Linked DNA regions of Homo sapiens: all the other regions are linked to region 3. The links are contacts of gene promoters, found by promoter capture Hi-C in blood cells and fetal thymus (Javierre and others, 2016). All regions are on one chromosome and are shown on one strand. Each heading gives the region's core, a stretch centred on a gene start or on the middle of the fragment in contact. The rest is flanking DNA. Distances are from core to core; before and after follow the strand shown.

Evidence for each region. Contacts are between HindIII fragments. The CHiCAGO score rates a contact against its expected background, and 5 or more counts as called.
Region 1: a contact is called between the fragment with the promoter of DHODH here and the fragment with the promoter of NPIPB15 in region 3, in 4 of 17 cell types (naive CD8 T cells, naive CD4 T cells, total CD4 T cells and 1 more). The highest score is 7.5, in naive CD8 T cells.
Region 2: a fragment that was not itself captured here is called in contact with the fragment with the promoter of NPIPB15 in region 3 in 1 of 17 cell types (M0 macrophages); the score reaches 5.2 in M0 macrophages.

What each region holds. Positions count from the first base shown.
Region 1 is chr16:72,006,691-72,010,298 of GRCh38, forward strand. DHODH (dihydroorotate dehydrogenase (quinone)) reads left to right here and starts at 2,054. Exons shown (of 9, transcript NM_001361.5): 1 at 2,054-2,095. The coding sequence starts at 2,075. It also overlaps the pseudogene ATP5F1AP3. RefSeq lists silencers at 1,806-1,905, 1,849-2,048. The HindIII fragment of the contact is 5,632 bases long and covers 1-3,608 here.
Region 2 is chr16:71,782,070-71,785,432 of GRCh38, forward strand. The region is part of intron 2 of AP1G1 (adaptor related protein complex 1 subunit gamma 1); the gene reads right to left. Among named protein-coding and RNA genes, the nearest start is that of AP1G1, 25 kb to the right of the region's middle. The HindIII fragment of the contact is 2,187 bases long and covers 845-3,031 here.
Region 3 is chr16:74,374,006-74,377,575 of GRCh38, forward strand. NPIPB15 (nuclear pore complex interacting protein family member B15) reads left to right here and starts at 2,301. Exons shown (of 8, transcript NM_001306094.2): 1 at 2,301-3,341. The HindIII fragment of the contact is 9,807 bases long and covers 1-3,570 here.

The sequences.
Region 1 (3,608 bases), core at 804-3,303, 2.4 Mb before region 3:
CATCTTTGCAGTTTCTCCACAGGTGGTACCTCCACAGCCGCAGCCTCTGGACTGACTGGGACCGTTTCAAGCATTTTTAAATGAAACCTGATGTTGATGAAATCTCTGAAAGTCAAGTCAGGTATCTTACACAATGCTGTAATTTCATTTCAATCCTTTTCATAAAGGGTAAAGTCCTTGTATATATTCTTTCAATACATGCTTTATCTAAGACACAAGCACTCTATCAATAAAAGTTTTAATTTAAACGACCAAAAAATTGGTGAGAGAGTGCTCAGAACTGAGGATAAACATGTAAGTAGTTTTTTGTCCCAGATGAGCAATGATTTATGTTGACTAAGGTGTGCTGAATTAACTTATTCCATTAAAGTGTAAAGGGAAGACAGGTTGATAAGCATAACTTTTACCTTGATAAATGTTTTCAATGATTTCTATTGCATGTAGACTGAAACACCTAGCATGTAAATTATTGCAGTAGAATCTGTCTCTAAGTCTCAGCTGGGTCTGTGAATTTGTTCTAATTTGATAGCTTCATACAACTGATGAAGCTCAAAAATGGCTTGACTCAAGATATTTCATACACCTTTCTTTTGCTCTAATTTCTGCTACGACAATAACCCAGCTATTTCAGCTGATGGCGGGAACACTGCAACTGGACAAAAATGACACGGATGGGTGTAGAGCCTCCAAACAATAAGTATCTGATTAATGCTGTTGACACCTAAGTCTACAGAGGCTATTCTCCAACGGCCAGGACATCATTAGGTAAGACATTTCAAAATTCTTCGTGAGGGCACGATTGCTTCAGAGGACTACAAAGTGACACATTAGGTCGTCATAAATCACCGCAGTACCATCCTGGCTAACACGGTGAAACCCCGTCTCTAAAATACAAAACAATGAGCCGGGCATGGTTGCGGGCGCCTGTAGTCCCAGCTACTCGGGAGGCTGACGCAGGAGAATGGCGTGAACCCGGGAGGCGGAGCTTGTAGTGAGCCGAGATCGCGCCACTGCACTGCAGCCTGGGCAACAGAGCAAGACTCTGTCAAAAAAAAAAAAAAAAAAAAAAAAAAATCACCGCAGTAAACCACACTCCAACGGGCCTGCACACTCAGGGTCTTGATTAGAAACAGTATTTAAAAAAATACCTCCACATCTGTTGCACCACAATGCCAAGGTATAACCAGGGCCACTTTCTCCAGGAGGCACAACAGGCGCAGGGCCAGGGAAGGGCCTCTGACACTTTTAGGATCTCAAGAAATTTTTTTTTTTTGGTTATTTTTCTTTGTTTGTTTTTGAGACAGAGTCTTGCTTTGTCGCCCAGGCTGGAGTGCAGTGGTGCTATCTCGGCTCACTGCAACCTCCACCTTCTGGGTTCAAGCGATTCTCCTGCCTCAGCCTCCCGAGTACCTGGGATTACAGGCGCCTGCCACTACGCCCGGCTAATTTTTGTATTTTATTTTATTTTTTAGTAGACACGGGGTTTTGGGTGTTGACCAGGTCTCGAACTCCTGACCTCAAGTGATCTGCCTGCCTCAGCCTCCCAAAGTGCTGGGACTACAGGCGTGAGCCACCATGCCCGGCCTCAAGAAAATGTTTTAATTTCCTTAAAAAACCTTAAGAAAAATCAACTTTTAAGTTGAAAAAGTTTATATATTAACATATTCATCTTTATATCAACACAGCAGTAAAATTTATTTTTTAAAGTGATAAAAACTGTACAAATATTTCTGGTGTGAAACACAGTGTTTTGATGCTCGCGGACTCTTGGATTCGAGGCTGCGGTAGTACGGACAAACACCGTGCAGCGGCATCTCATCTCCGCCAACAGCCGGCGATCAAGCGGGCAGGCTGGGAGAGGGCGGGCGGAAGAGGCGTGGCCGCCGCTACTGCGCACGTGCACCCAACCAGAACCTGGGGGTGGTGCCGGGCCTTCCCCGCTGCGCGGAGGCGTCCTCTCAACCCTTCTGCCCGGCGACTGGTGGGTTGGCGGCTAAGGGGCGGAGACAAGAGGGGCCGCCACCATCTCCTCCAATGGAAGGGAGACAGGGGCGGGCTTAATGACGGAAGGAGCATGGCGTGGAGACACCTGAAAGTGAGTCCCGCGAGTGAGCAGTGTGGATGGGGGACCAGGGACCGGGGAGGGCGAGAACGGAGAGTCAGGCCGGGCGAGGCATGGACCGAAGGCGGCTCCGGGAGTGTGGGCCCCCCTGGGACGTGTGCGTGTTTCCGGGGTCTCCTGCAAATGCTCGTGCGTGTGCATTTGCACGTGGACTCGGTCAGGCGTGTGCAGACAGCGCCTGCAGGTCTGGGTGGGTGCTGATCTGAGTGTCTGCGCCTGGGCCATGTTTTTGAGCCTGGCACAGGGGTGCTTAGTGAACACATGACCGCCTAGCGTTGTGTGCCGGATCCAACGGGGAATGAAACTAGAGTAGGACATGCTCCCAACCCTTTTAGGTAAAGTTTTGTTAGGGGCGGGGGTCTCTGTGAAAAGTTCTTAGCTGTATCCCCGTATGTAATAGGTGTTCAGAGGCCGGGCGCGGTGGCTCACGCCTGTAATCCCAGCACTTTGGGAGGCCGAGGCGGGTGGATCATGAGGTCAGGAGATCGAGACCATCCTGGCTAACAAGGTGAAACCCCGTCTCTACTAAAAATACAAAAAATTAGCCGGGCGCGGTGGCGGGCGCCTGTAGTCCCAGCTACTCGGGAGGCTGAGGCAGGAGAATGGCGTGAACCCGGGAAGCGGAGCTTGCAGTGAGCCGAGATTGCGCCACTGCAGTCCGCAGTCCGGCCTGGGCGACAGAGCGAGACTCCGTCTCAAAAAAAAAAAAAAAAAAAAAAAAAATAGGTGTTCAGATATTTGTTGATTGACATGGTGGGGGGGAGTACAGTCTCCAAGGGAGGCAATGAATAACCTTGACTTTCTTTTTATATGTTTATTTGAGACGGAGTCTTGGGCTGTCGCCCAGGCTGGAGTGCAGTGGCGCGATCTTGGCTCACTGCAACCTCCGCCTCCCGGGTTCAACCGATTTTCCTGCCTCGGCCTCCTGCGTAGCTGAGATTACAGGCGCGCGCCACCACGACTGGCTAATTTTGGTATTTTTAGTAGAGACTGCAGTTTCACCATGTTGGTCAGGCTGGTCTCGAACTCCTCACCTCGTGAGCCTCCCAAAGTGCTGGGATTACTGGCGTGAGCCACCGCGCTCGGCCTGAGTCTCTTTTTAAAATAAATAAATGGAGAGAGATGGGATCTCACTGTGTTGCCCAGGCTGGTCTAGAACTATTGGCCTCAAGGGATCTTCCCGCCTCAGCCTCCCAAAGTGGTGGGATTACAGGCGTGGGCTACCGCGCCCAGCCAATGAATACTTGATCTACATGTCTTTAGCAGTTTGGAAGGATCCTTAAAAGCAAATCTAATCATGTCATTTCCTGGCTTAGGGAACAAAACCCAAATCTTTATTTTGGCCAAGACTCCTGCTCCTTTCTCCTGCCTCGTCTTAAGCCTTACTTTCCCTCACTCCTCTGTTCCAAACTTTCTCCCTTTTTCATTCTCTTCTGCTACTGAGAGAGCCTTTACACTTTTTCCTCTCCGTACTGCCTTCTGGTTA
Region 2 (3,363 bases), core at 688-3,187, 2.6 Mb before region 3:
CTACAGCTCTAAGAAGAAACTTCTCTATACAGAAGGAAGGCCATACTATTGCTAAGGAAAGGCAATATAAACGTTTATTTCAATCAATTGCAATTATTATCCTTTTTTTATTGACACAGAGTCTCACTCTGCCAACCAGGATGGAGTGCAGTGGCACGATCTCGCCTCACTGCAACCTCCGCCTCCCAGGTTCAAGTGATTCTCAAGCCTCAGCCTCCGGAATACCTGGGATTACAGGTATCTGCCACCATGCCCGGCTAATTTTTGTATTTTTAGTAGAGATGGGGTTTCACTATGTTTGTCAGGCTGGTCTCGAACTCCTGAGCTCAAGCAATCTGCCCGCCTCAGCCTCACAAAAGACTGAGATTACAAGTTTAGTCACCGCACCCAGCCTACAATTATTATTATTATTATTATTATTTTTATTATTATTTTGAGATGGAGTCTCGCTCTGTTGCCCAGGGTGGAGTGCAGTGGCGCAGTCTTGGCTCACTGCAACCTCCACCTCCCGGGTTCAAGCGATTCTCCTGCCTCAGTCTCCTGAGTAGCTGGGATTAATAGGCGCCTGACACCACACCTGGTTAATTTTTGTATTTTTAGTAGAGACAGGGTTTCATCATGTTGGCCAGGATGGTATTGAACTCCTGACCTCGTGATCTGCCTGCCTCGGCCTCCCAAAGTGCTGGGATTACAGGTGTGAGCCACCATGCCCAGCCGATTATTATTCTTATTAATACTCAAATTATCTCTTTTGGGGGTATGACTGCCTCTTCTGGTGATTACTGAAACCTTCTGACATGATCTTTGCAGTCTTTCTTGCTTTCTGGCATAGTAACATCATTCAAGCTTATTTTGTACATTTCCTTACCCTGGATTTGGGATCAGCCATCTTTCCAATGGGCTGAAAATAGTATCTGGAGACCACAGTCTAGGCTTAAGGATAGCTCATTGCTTCTGGTCTGGTCATTAATTCTAAGGCTTTTCAAGGAATAGTACTAGCTTAAGTACTTTATTTTAAGAAAAAAATTCCTTAATGTGAGAAAGCGTGTCTACTAAACCCTATGACAGTCACCCACATATTACTGTAGAGCATTTGTTTACGGCTTTAACAAGAGTGGCTATTATCATCACTTATTTGCAATAATGTACTACCTGTACAGTGTAATAAGAAAATAAGAAAATGTATAAGGATATCAAAGGAAAAAAAAGAACTGCCATTGTTTGCAGACAATAGTAGTATTGACTACATGGAAACAATGACGTCCACAGAGACTCTTAGAACCAAGTTCAATAATGTGGCAAAGTAGATAAATATTATTAAAAATCAATTATATCACTACAGATCTACAACATAATTATTTAAAATTTTAAAGGATACTATTTGCAACAGAAACAAGAGCTCTAAAGAACCTACAAATATATTTCTCCAAAGATGTGTTAAGACTTAAAAATCCTGTGTTTTAAAGGAAATTTTTTTTTAATTTTTTAAAAAGATGTATAAGACTGTACAGAAAACATTGTAAAATTTAGAGAAGCTAAAGAAGTGCAGTCCTATGCTACACAGATGGAAGGGAAGAATATCCTACACAGGTAATTGGGTATGGCAAGCAAGGCTAGAACTGAGGAAAAACAGAATCAGGCCCAGCCTAAAAGCAGCACACTACTGACATATGGAAATGTAGATTTCCATTCCACAAATCTTACTATGTTTCTAAGAGAAACTAGAAGTCCAGATTTCTATGGAAATTCTTTTTTCTTTTTTATGTACTGGCAGAAACAATTTTAAATACCACACAGGACAAAAAAGAACACATCTGTGGAAGAATTTGGCCCCGAGCCACCAGTTTTCTACTCCTGCAATCTACCTACTTATCTTTAGATAATTCATTAATATTTCTGGGTTGTGCTTAACCTACACACGCAAAAGGTTACACACACTACAGGAAATCTATCACCACTTTTGTTATAAAAATGCTGAGGATACTGTCTCTTACATTATTAAGAGACTCCTAGACAAAAGGTCCATATAAAAAATCTCTTAGAATTCAGTGCTTCAAAAAACATTGCCGTCCTTTAGGAAATGGTAAAATGCATAACATGAGGCTTTTTATATACAAAATGTGTCTAACACTTATAACTTAATCTTCATAATAACACTATAAAGTAGGCATTAAGATTGTCCCCATTTTACAGATGAGGAAACTGAGACACAGAAAGGTTAAAGATCTTGCTCAAAGCCAGAAGTCACATCCAGGCAATCTGGTTCTCTGCAGTTTTGCTCTTCCATCTTGGCAATAACAACTACCTGAGAGGTGACTGTCTCTTTTCTTGCCTTAGCTGTCGCACCAACAGCAACTACACTGGCCTTATGCTCTAAATGCTTCCTTTTTCCAACTCTTAATTTCTACTATTATTTTTCTCTTTAATGTAGATGCTGGTAGTTTATGCCATCTCAAATCCTTTGTACAGCAAGGCAGGGCTAAGATATTTTTTTGTTGTTGTTGTTTGAGACAGAGTCTCGCTTTGTCGCCCAGGCTGGAGTGCAATGGTATGATCTCGGCTCACTGCAACCTCCACCTTCCAGGTTCAAGTGATTCTCCTGCCTCAGCCTCCCAAGTAGCTGGGATTACAGGCACCCACCATCACGCCTGGCTAATTTTTGTATTTTTAGTAGAGACAGAGTTTCACCATGTTGGCCAGGATGGTCTCAAACTCCTGACTTCAGGTGATCCCCCTACCTTGGCCTCCCAAAGTGCCAGGATTACAGGCGTAAGTCACCGTGTCCATCCTACCCCTTAAGTTTTATTGCAAAACTTAAGACTTTTAAAATATAGCTACTAGAAATTTTTAAATTTCTATGTAGCTTGTGTTTTATTTCTATCAGCACCATACTAGATACTGTAGTAAAAAGTTTTAAAAAGGTGAAATTAGTTTTAATAATATTCTTTAATCAATATATCTAAAATATCATTTCAACGTATGATCAACACAAAAATTATAATTAGGTATTTTACACTTGCTTTTGCACTAAAGCTTCTATATACAGTATGTACTTTACACTTACAGCACATCTCAATTTGTACATTTTCATCAGAAATAGCTAAACTAAAAAGAAAAAAAAAGAAATAGCTGAACTGTATTTAGATTTCATAAAATTTACTATTTATAAAGTAGACTCACATACCCAAGTTGTTTAAAACATATTTAAAAGTCTTCCAATAACTAGGCTGGGTGTGGTGGCTCACACCTGTAATTCCAGCACTTTGGGAGGCCAAGACGGTGGATCATTTGAGGTCAGGAGTTCAAGACTAGTCTGGACAACATGGTGAAACCCTGTCTCTACCAAAAATACAAAAATTAGCC
Region 3 (3,570 bases), core at 1,051-3,550:
GGTCTCGAACTCCAAACCTTGTGATCCGCCCGCCTCTGAGATCAGAACTGAGATCACGCCACTGCATTCCAACCTGGGCAACAAGAGCTAACTCTGTCTCAAAAAAAAAAAAAAAAGTTTTTAAAGACAGGGTCTCGCTATGTTGCCCATGCTGGTCTTGAATTCCTGGGGTCAAGTGATGCTTCTGCTTTAGCCTCCCAAGGAGCTGGAATCATGGGTGCCCACCACCATGCTCGGCTACTATTTTCTTCAAAATTCAAATATTCTAGCTTAACAGTACCTATTAGATAAATAAATGGCAATTTTCTGGAACATTCTTTTTTTGGTTTTGTTTTGGTTTTTTTTTTTTTTTTTTTTTTTTGAAACGGAGTCTCCCTCTGTCGCCCAGGCTGGAGTGCAGTGGCGCAATCTCGGCTCACTGCCAGCTCCGCTTCCCGAGTTCACGCCATTCTCCTGCCTCAGCCTGCCGAGTAGCTACGACTACAGGTGCCTGCTACCACGCCCGGCTAATTTTTCTGTAGTTTTAGTAGAGACGGGGTTTCACCGTGTTAGCCAGGATGGTCTCGATCTCCTGACCTCGTGATCCACCCGCCTCGGCCTCCCAAAGTGCTGGGATTACAGGCTTGAGCCGTGGCACCCGGCCCAGGAACTTCTCTTATATCTAGAAGCCAGGCTTGGTGACTCTACTTGCTCACCAGATGATCCTACACCTGCCACCTCCGATGGATCCACTGCCTCTGTGCCTGCCTGTACTGCTGATGCTCCAGTGGATAACTCAGCATCCCAGCCTAGGCCCAATGCCACTGAAGATGGACCTGCCCCCTGGAGACCCAGGAGTTCTACCACTCAGCTGTCCCCAGAAGTGCCCAGACCCTCATTCTTATCCAGGACCTAGGAGCCCTACCCCCTGGCCTTCCGTCATCAGCCGTAAATGATGATTTACTGCTGTTACCATCATCACTGCATTTAGTAACCAAGGGCCTTCCAAGGTGCCAGCTCTGGAACGAAGGATGCCTTTGGGAGGTGATGACACTCAGGTACACGGGTGCTCAACAGATTGCTTCCTCCTATCCTCAGATGGTCTTTGCATGCATGCAGCCATTGGCACTCCCATTGTACGCAAGGAAACCAGCCCAGGGTCACACAGCTGGTCAGCAGCAACACAGCTGGTCTCAAATCTAAGGTGCCTGGCCATGCCTCCATGAGGGACCGCCTGCAAGGGAGGTTGATCCTGGCTTTGGGGAGCCTTTCCTGGGCTGCACGAGTAACCTCCAATGTTTGAGGCCCCAAACTCTGCTCACATCTTCCTTTCCCTGTCTCTGCTTGGGCTATGATCACGGTGACTCTAGCAACCCTTCATGGACATTATAGTACTCTCTGCCATTCACTTTTGGTCTAATCTGACTTCAACCCCCACTTACTTGGTCTCTCCTTTTACAACCAACACAACCGAAATCCGAGGGCTTCTTTTTTTTTGAGACAGAGTCTCATTCCATTCTGTCACCCAGGCTGGAGTGCAATGGCACGATCTCGGCTCACTGCAACCTCCACCTCCTGGGTTCAAGGGATTGTCCTGCCTCAGCCTCCTGAGTAGCTGGGATTACAGGCGGGTGCCACCGTGCCTGGCTAATTTTTGTATTTTTAGTAGAGACGGGGTTTCACCATGTTGGTCAGGCTGATCTCGAACTCCTAACCTCGTGATCCGCCTGCCTCAGCCTCCCAAAGTGCTGGGATTACAGGCGTGAGCCACCATGCCCAGCCAAATCTAGGGCTGGAACATGGCTGCAGCATATAAATAGAATTGAATTCCATAGTTTTGTTAACCCTGTTTTTTGTTTGTTTGTAGTTGTTGCTGTTTTTGAGACTGAGTCTCGCTCTGTCGCCTAGGCTGGAGTGCAGTGGTGCAATCTCGGCTCACTGCAGACTCTGCCTCCCGGGTTCAAACTATTCTCCTGCCTCAGCCTCCCAAGTAGGTGGGACTAAGGCGCCCACCACCACACCCGGCTAATTTTTGTATTTTATTAGAGACAGGGTTTCACCATATTGGCCAGGCTGGTCTGGAACTCCTGACCTTGTGATCCACCCACCTCGGCCTCCCAAAGTGCTGGGATTACAGGCGTGAGCCACCACACCCAGCCCCTGTTTTGTTTTTGTTTTGCTTGTTTCTTAGGGTTGTTTTTCTATTTATGGTAAAGGCATTGGCTTTCCATTTGTAGCATCAATAGAATATTTCCTGTTTACAATAACCTTATGTCATAGTAAATGGTAAAGGGATTTAAAGCAGTGGTTTTCAGCTGCCAGAGGCCTGAGTGAGTTTGGGCACACTCTGTGTGATCGGGCAGAAGGCCTGTGGGAAGTTCAGCTGAGGACAGGGCCAGGAAAGGTGATGGACAGTGGGGGTCTGTCCTGGTCACCAGACCCCTGGGTCCTGCCCACCTGCTTGGAGCTCCCCACCCATCACACATGATGCTGCCAAGCCCTCTGGGTATTGTGGGCAAATACCTTAGGAGAGAAGCTGATGAACTTTGTTTCTTGAAATGCACAGATTCCTTGGACGTCCCTGAGAGGTCAATGATGAAGGTCAACTTGGTTTTCTCCCCCTCATTTGGGTTCAGAATTTAAAGTCCACACACACAGGCAGTAAGATGATTATAGATAAGGACATCATCACTCGGTTTCAGATGTTAAAATGTCTAGGTGGGTTAGGGGTGATTTGAGATCACACAACCTTGTGCCACAAAGAGGAATTCCCAGGCCAGGGGGAGACATTTTATTGCCATGTTATGATCTCATCATTGAGTTGAAAGGCAATCTTGTTTCATTTTGGATTCTTTCTTATGTTTATGTCTTATAAGGGCACTTTGAATTTCCAAGCAAATAATAATTTTGAATTAGCTTTTAATCATTGACTTCTAGCACAGTTATATGATCAGAAACATGCTGTGTGATTTGATTGCTCTCAAATATATTGAGATTTGCTGGAACAAAATAAGTCAGGTTAATTTTTGTAAATGTACCATGCATGCTTAAAATGAATGTATCTACATTTGTTCCTGAGATACAGGTTGATGGACGGATGGCTACATGGATGTGATGGAGATGGTTTACTATCGGGACCTTCCGCATCCTGCTGATGTTTTGTTGCTTAGGATATGAATGGCTGAGCGGAGGCTGTAAAACCTGGCACTCTGCTTGGGTATGAAGTTCTTCCTGCCATCCTGCCATCATTTGTTTTTTATGTTTTGTCGCCAAAAGTGACCTTGAGGAACCCTGGGAGCTCAGGAAGGAAGGAGAGCCCAGAAGCAGGGACAGGGAGCTGGTTGGGGAGGACCAGAAATCAGGTTTGTGAAGGTTCCAGAGAGGACCTGTCCTTGCGAGGAGTGTGGGAGACTGAGATGGGGGAGGGGTCATTGGAATGATGCGGGCGCTACTTGGCATTGTCCATTGTGAGGCACCACCGGGGTCATCAGGGATTGGTGGAGAGGGAGTATAAAGCCCCAGGGTTGCTAAGGGAGGGCCCAGACCGAAGAAGGTTTGGTGGATAGCAGAACCTTTTTGTCTCCCTCTAAT